Regions from separate parts of the Homo sapiens genome. Here all the other regions are linked to region 1. The links are contacts of gene promoters, found by promoter capture Hi-C in human tissues and cell types (Jung and others, 2019). All regions are on one chromosome and are shown on one strand. Each heading gives the region's core, a stretch centred on a gene start or on the middle of the fragment in contact. The rest is flanking DNA. Distances are from core to core; before and after follow the strand shown.

The links. The method cuts DNA at HindIII sites, captures the fragments that hold promoters and counts their contacts. A contact is called where the count stands out against the background at its distance.
Region 2: a contact is called between a fragment that was not itself captured here and the fragment with the promoter of RNF222 in region 1, in 1 of the 25 tissues and cell types used here (lymphoblastoid cells).
Region 3: a contact is called between a fragment that was not itself captured here and the fragment with the promoter of RNF222 in region 1, in 1 of the 25 tissues and cell types used here (lymphoblastoid cells).

What each region holds. Positions count from the first base shown.
Region 1 is chr17:8,396,539-8,399,099 of GRCh38, forward strand. RNF222 (ring finger protein 222) reads right to left here and starts at 1,289. Exons shown (of 3, transcript NM_001146684.3): 1 at 1,157-1,289. The HindIII fragment of the contact is 8,302 bases long and covers 1-2,561 here.
Region 2 is chr17:9,529,525-9,532,085 of GRCh38, forward strand. The region is part of intron 4 of STX8 (syntaxin 8); the gene reads right to left. Among named protein-coding and RNA genes, the nearest start is that of STX8, 45 kb to the right of the region's middle. The HindIII fragment of the contact is 7,559 bases long and covers 1-2,561 here.
Region 3 is chr17:9,512,736-9,515,296 of GRCh38, forward strand. The region is part of intron 4 of STX8 (syntaxin 8); the gene reads right to left. Among named protein-coding and RNA genes, the nearest start is that of STX8, 62 kb to the right of the region's middle. The HindIII fragment of the contact is 3,350 bases long and covers 1-2,561 here.

The DNA of each region.
Region 1 (2,561 bases), core at 39-2,538:
CTGGGCAATCCTTCCCTCTTACAACGATGGCCTCTCCGGACAATCCTTCCCCCTTCCAATGATGGCCTCTCTGGACAGTCCTTCCCGCTTCCAACGATGGCCTCTCTGGGCAATCCTTCCCCCGTCCCGTGCTTCCGGAGAGCCACGCCGTCAACACCTGGACGATGCTACCTCCTTCCCCACCTTCTTGCCTCCCTTTCTCAGTCTTTCCCTGACCCCTCCCTCTGCCTCTCTCGCTTTCTGAATCCCATTCCATTCCCCATCCTTGAGTTCCTCTTATGGTATGATTCTGTTTGGATGCTGGGGTGAGGGAGAGGGCAACAGAAGAAATGCAAGGAACATACTCTAGTTTGAGCACAAACGAGTTGAAGAAGAATGCAGTAAGTGCCAAAGCATCCCTGTTGGTGCCTTAGGAAACTGAGGGGAGAGGAGGGCTGGAAAGTATTCCTAGGTGAAGTGGGACCAGTATTGAGCTAATAATAAATAATTATTATTATTTACAACAGCGACCATTTATTGAATCCTAATTATATGCTTGGCATTTTGCATCCCTTCCTCTTCTGATCCTGACAACAAGGCTGGGGCGTAGGGATTATCTTCATTTTACAGATAAGGGACCTGAGGCTCAGAGCTTAAGACTTTGTCTTCAGACTTTGGTCAAAGGAATAGAAGAAATAGCACTGTTAGAAAAGTGACTACCCAAAGTTCCTTCCTCTTTAGGTTTAGAGTGACCCTAAACAAGGATGCCCCTCTGGCCACCTGGGAGGCAGGGGGAAGGCAATGGCTGGCCCAAGGGAGCTGACCTTGGGAAGCCCCAGTACTGAGCCTCCCCCACAGCAGTAGCCCATCTCCGGAACAGAGTGTGGGGGCAGGTGTCCCCACCCCAGAGAAAACACCCCCCATCCCCACCTCAGCACAGGAGCCAGTGGGACAGAATGATACTTCCAGGCACCTGGGATTCCCTCCTGGAGCCCCAGTGCAAGGTCCTATAGCTTTAGCTGTGACTAGTTGCTCACCCACAGGTATCTCTTTCTCTCTCTCTCTCAATTTCTCTCTCTCTCATTCTCCTGCATCCTTCCAATGTTGGCAACCTTCCAACATTGCCAAGCTCCTTCCCCACGCCCATCCAGGCCCCTAGACTCACTTTAGCTGGGACCGGAGAGAGCAGCATCCACCTTCCCTCCTGGGGCCTCCAGCAGATCTGAGCCACCCCGAGGTGCTGAGCAGCAGCACGATCTCCTCCTGTTGCTGTTAGTGTGACCGCCACCGCCGAGGCAATTCCTAATGACAGAGCAGGTCGGGAGGACAGCGCGAGGAAGTGAATGTCGCCCAACCCGTTTGAGGCCAGGAGGCTTTGGCGTTGCCCAGGGGGTTGGCAGCTGCTGGAGTCAGGTGATCTTGCTGAGGATGCCAGGAGAGGAACCCCCAGCTTGAGGAGGAGCCCAGGGGTGGGTGCTCAGGAGAGTCAGAGGGTCTCACAGTGGAGGCAGTGACCCAGGACCCCTTTGACTGAGGCTCCCCAGGCATGGGTCTCCCTATCAATAGGAAAGTCACCCACACTGTCCTTCCCACCCTCCTGGACCCATTTCTGTGATCCCCATCTTCCCCCCACACCCCTATCCTCACACCATGCACAGGGTGAAGGGGTCAGTAGTAGATCAGCCTCGGGAAGTCTATGACACTCAGAGTCATATATTTGTGGGATCTGCCTGTGTGCATTTGTCATTCATGGAACACCCAAAGGCGCTTAGAACTCCAAAGACCCAGCACCACTGGCATAAAGAACGAGGCGAGTAAGACCAGTGAAGCAGGAATGCACACAGATATGGAAAGAAGTCCCCGGCATCATGATAAATGGAAGCAACTTTCAGAACAGCCTGTGTAATACAATTCTATTTATGAAGATAATAATACATGATCATATTCATAGAGGAAAAGCTGGAAGAAAACACATCAGACTGTTAATAGCAGTTATCTCTGGAGAGACTTTCTAAGTTTTATATTTCTGTGATGTTTGCATTTTCACCCTGAATGTATGTTTCTTTTGTGATTAGAGAAAAAGTCATCCACTGGGTATGGTGGCTCATGCCTGTAATCTCAGCACTTTGGGAGGTTGAGGCGGGCAGACTGCTTGAGGCCAGGAGTTCGAGACCAGCCTTGCCAACATGGTGAAACCCTGTTGCTACTAAAAATACAAAAATTAGCTGGGCAAGGTGGTGCAAGCCTGTAGTCTCAGCTACTCGGGAGGCTGAGGCACAAGAATTGCTTGAATCCAGAAGGTGGAGGTTGCAGTGAGTGAGCCAAGATTGCACCACTGCACTCCAGCCTGGATGACAGAGTGAGACTGTCTCAAAGAAAAAGAAAAAGTCATCAAGAATAATGGAGGAATGAAGTTCGGGGAACTGGAAATCATTTTGGAGGATTCCCTCCCAGTCCTCTCAGGAGGTCCCCAAGAAACCAGTTTTCTTCTGAAAAAGTAAGTTACTGGGTCCAAGGCACAGCCCAGCATGTGTGTGACCCCATAGGATGACACAGGATGACCCCTCTTCTGTCCGATCAGT
Region 2 (2,561 bases), core at 30-2,529, 1.1 Mb after region 1:
AAAGAGTATTACCAGAACCCCAGGAGCCCTGTCATATACCCTTCTAGTCACTACTTCCCCCAAAGGGAACCGCTTTCGTGATTTATAACACTGTAAGTCTCACCTTTATAGGAGTGGCATCATATAGCATGAACTGTGTAAACTCTTCTGTCTGACATGATGTCTGAGATCCATCCATAGTGTGGTGTACAGTTGTAGATTGTTAATTCTCATTTGCTGTGTGACATCATTGTATGAATATGCCATCATGTATTTATTCATTATACTATAGATGTTCATTGGATTATTTCCAGGTGAGACTACTAAGAAAAGCACTGTAAACAGAGACGCCTGTAGTCTCAACTACTCTGGAGACTGAGGTGGGAGAATCGCGTGAGCCCAGGACCTTGAGGTTACAGTGTACTATGATTCCATCAGTGAATAGCCACTCTACTCCAGCCTGGGCAACGTAGCAAGACCCTGTCTCTAAAAAACAAAACAAAACAAAAAATAGCACTGCTAGGCCGGGCGCAGTGGCTCACGCCTGTAATCCCAGCACTTTGGGAGGCTAAGGCGGGCGGTTCATGAGGTCAGGAGATCGAGACCATCCTGGCTAACACAGTGAAACCCCGTTTCTACTAAAAAAATACAAAAAAAATTAGCCAGGTGCAGTGACGGGCGCCTGTAGTCCCAGCAACTCGGGAGGCTGAGGCAGGAGAATGGTGGGAACCCGGGAGGTGGGGCTTGCAGTGAGCCGAGATCGCGCCACTGCACCCCAGCCTGGGAGACAGAGTGAGACTCCGTCTCAAAAAAAAAAAAAAAAAACAGCACTGCTATAAACATTCTTGTACGTGCCTTTTGTATAGTTCCATTTCAGCAAATACAGTTTTCCATTTCAGCAAATATGGTTTTCCAAAGAGATTGTACAATTTACAGTCCCAGCAGTAGTATATGAGAACTATAGCTGCTCCACATCCTAGCAACACTTGACATGTCTGTCATTTTAATTTTAGCCATTCTTGTAGTATAATGACATTGTGACTTGACTTTGCATTTACTTGATGACTAGTGAAGTTGAACACCTTTTCTTACATTCATCAACCATTGAATATCCTCTTGTGAAATTCAAGTCTTTTGCCTATGTTTTTCTAACAGGTTGCTTGCCTTTTTCTTGACTTATAGGGATTCTTCATATATCCAAGATACATTTCCTATGTCAAATATTAATATATGCCCTGCAAATACAGATTTTCATTCTGTGACTTGTCTTTCAATCATTGTGGTATCTTTTGATAAAAAGAATTTTTTGTTTTAATGAAATCCAACTTATCACTTGTTTCCTTTATGGTTAGTATGTTTTGTGGCCTGTTTAAGAAATCTTTGGCTATCCCAAGATCATAAAAATGTTCTCCTGTTTTCTTCTAAAAGCTCTCTGGTTCAACCCTTCACATTTAGATCTATAATCCTTTTGGAATTATTTCTTATGTAGGGTGATAGCAGAGGCCAAGATTCATTTTTTTCCATGTGGATATCCAGTTGACATAATGCCATTTATTGAAAAGATTACCTCTGTCATAAATCAGGTGACAATATATGTGTTAGACTGCTTCTGAACCCTCTCTTTTGTTCCACGGGTTTATCTGCCTATCCTTGTGCTAACACCACACTACAGCTTTGTGGTGAGTCTGGATAACTGGTCATGTGAGTCCTCTGGCCTTTTTGTTCTTAAAAATTGTCTCAGCTTTTCTTATCTCTTTGCATTAACCATATAAACAGTGGCTGTAATCAGCTTCTCAAGTGGCAAAACGGAAACAAAAATCTGGCTGGGGACTGTAAGTGGGTTTGCTCTAAATCTATAAATCAATCTTGAGGGAACTGATGACTTTACAATATTGAGTCTCCCAATCTCTGAACAAGGCACAGAGACTGAAGAGATCTGAGCATGGTAAGACCCCACCCCGACTTACTCAAAGTTTCACTTTCCAGAGTTTCAGTTACCCACACTCCGAAAATATTATAGACAATAAGATATTTTGAGAGAGAGAGAGAGAGACCACATTCTCATAACTTCCATTACAGTATTAAACTTTACCATGGGTATATATTCACAAGTAAAAATATAGCATATACAGGGCTCAGTACTACCCAAGCTTTCAGGAATCCACTGAGGGTCTTAGAATGTGTCCTCTGCCCTTAAGCAGGGGACTACTCTTTATTTATCTCTTCAGCTTTACTTAATTTCCCTAAATAATGTTTTATAGTTTTCAGTGTAGAAGTCTCATACATCTTTCATTTTACTTATTTCTACAGATTTCATGTTTTTTTTTTTAAAGTACTATGACAGCAGCCTTAAAATTTTTTCATTTGATTTTTCTTTGTTGTCTAGCTTTTAAAACCTTCTGAGGAGAGAAACTACCAGGTTGCTACTGCTAACCACGTGTGGACAGGCTGTGCTTCATTTTCTTTCACATGGTAATGGCTGGATACCTTTCTTGACTTGATCAATGACATGGAGTTGCAATGACCATTTGTTCAGATCTCAAGGTCTCTGGTTTTCTTTGCTCCATCAGTCATCCAAAGAG
Region 3 (2,561 bases), core at 44-2,543, 1.1 Mb after region 1:
AGCCTACTCATTTTTAACAGAGGTGCCAAGAATACTCACTGGGGGAAGACAGTCTCTTCAATAAATGGTGTTGGGAAACTGAATATGCACATGCATAAGAATGAACCTGGACACCCATCTATCACCCTAAGGAAAAAATCAACTCAAAATGATTCAAAGACCTAAATGTAAAACCCAAAACCATAAAAGTACCAGGCAAAAACAAGGAAAACACTTCAGGATGTTGATCTGGGAAAAGATTTTATGAGTCAGACCTCACAAGCACAGGCAACAAAAGCAAAAAGAAACGAATGAGATTACAACAAACTAAAAAGCTTCTGCACAGCAAAGGAAACAGTCAATAGAGTGAAAAGACAATCTATAGGAGAAAATATTTGCAAACTGTTTATCCAACAGAGGATTAATATGCAAAATATGTAAGGAACTCAAAATATCTCAATGGCAAAAATCATAATAATAATTGGATGGAAAAATGGGCAAATGAGCTAGGCATGGTGGCATGCACCTATAGTCCCAGCTACTCAGGCTGAGGTGGGAGGATTACTTAAGCCTGGATAACATAGTGAGACTCTATTTCCAAAAAAAAAAAAAAAAAAAAAGATACACAAAATATGTGAAAGACAGACAAATGATCTGACCAGACATTTCTCAAAAAATGACACACAAATGCGCCAACAAATATATACAAATTGCTCAGCATTACTAATCGTCAGGGAACTGCAAATCCAAATCACAATGAGGTATCATCTCATTCCACTTAGAATGGCTATCATCAAAAACACAAAATAAATGCTTGTGAGGATGTTGTGAAACAGGAACTCTTATACACAGATGGTGGAAATGTAAACTAGTACAGCCACTATGGAGAGCAGTATGGGGGTTCCCCAAAAAACTATAACTAGAGCTACCATATGATCCAGCAATCCCCCTACTGGGCACTTATCCAAAGGAAAGAAAATCAGTATTTTGAAGAGATATCCACACCCACATGTTTACTGCAGCACTATTCACAGTAGGCAAAATATGGAATCAACCTATCCAACAACAGATGAATGGATAAAGAAAGTGTGGTATACATACACAACGGAATACAATTTAGCCATAAAAAAGAATAAAATCCTGCCATTCACAGCAACATGGATGGAGCTGGAGGACGTTATTATATTAAGTAAAATAAGCCAGGAACAGAAAGCTAAACACTGCATGTTCTTACTCATACGCAGAAGCTAAAAACAAAAGTTGATCTCATAGAAGTAAAAAGTAGAACAGAGCACACCAGAAACTGGGGAGAGTAGGGAGAAGGGGGAGAGCAAGAGATTTGTTAAGGGACACACAATTATAGTTGGACAGGAGGAATAAGTTTGAGTGTTCTATTCACCACTGTAGGATGACTACAGTTAACAATAAAGTCTCCAGTAGCTAGAAGGACGATATAGAATGTTCCCAACACAAAGAAATGAAAAATGTTTGAGATTATGAATGTGCTAATTATCCTGACTGGCTCATTATATATTACATGTATGAAAACATCACTATGTACCCCATAAATATGTATAATTATTATATGTCAATTAAAACAAAATGATAGGCTGGGTGCGGTGGCTCACACCTGTAATCCCAGCACTTTGGGAGGCCAACGCAGGTGGATCACCTGAGGTCAGGAGTTCCAGACCAGCCCGGCCAACATGGTAAAACCCTGTCTCTACTAAAAACACAAAAATTAGCTAGGCATGGTGGCGGGCGCCTGTAATCCCAGCTACTTGGGAGGCTGAGGCAGGAAGAATTGCTTGAACTCAGGAGGCGGATGTTGCAGTGAGCCAAGATTGCGCCACTGCACTCCAACCTGGGCAACAAAGTGAGGCTCCATCTCAAAAACAAAACAAAAACAAACAAAAAACAAAATGATGACAATGATGTTACAATAGCAATAACAACAGTTAACATGCAGTAAGCATTTGCCCTGTACAGACACGGCTCCAGGTGATTTATATATATTCACTCATATCTCCATTATTTATAATTCTTCTAGCCTTGTTCACATCTCCCATATCATCCAGAAACAATTGCTACCCTATTATTTAACCTTTTATATAGATAAGGTGCATATCCACTAGACAGAAGGCAGAAACTGAAAATCACCCTTCGCTGTACACACGCTGTCCCACAATATGGAGTGAACAGCTAATAGCATATCACCTACTGGCAACATATGAACAGAAAGTAGCTGGAGGATTCAATAATTTTTCATTCCAAAAACATTTACTTCGTAGTTATTATATAGTCGGCATTGCTCTCATTAATGGGCATGAAGAAAAAATAGAATATAGACAAATGGACCAAAATCTCCACCCATACAAAGCATAGATTCTTGTTATCGGTGCTGTTTGCATTCTGGTGGGATGAAACAATGTGTAAAATGTGTGCAAACTGTCTAATGTCGTACTTGGAAGATGTTAACTACTATCATAATACCAATTATTGCATTTTTTTACACAGAAGGCACTAAAAAATTTTAAATAAATCTGTATATCACAAAAGCTATATTAATTTCACTTTTAGTT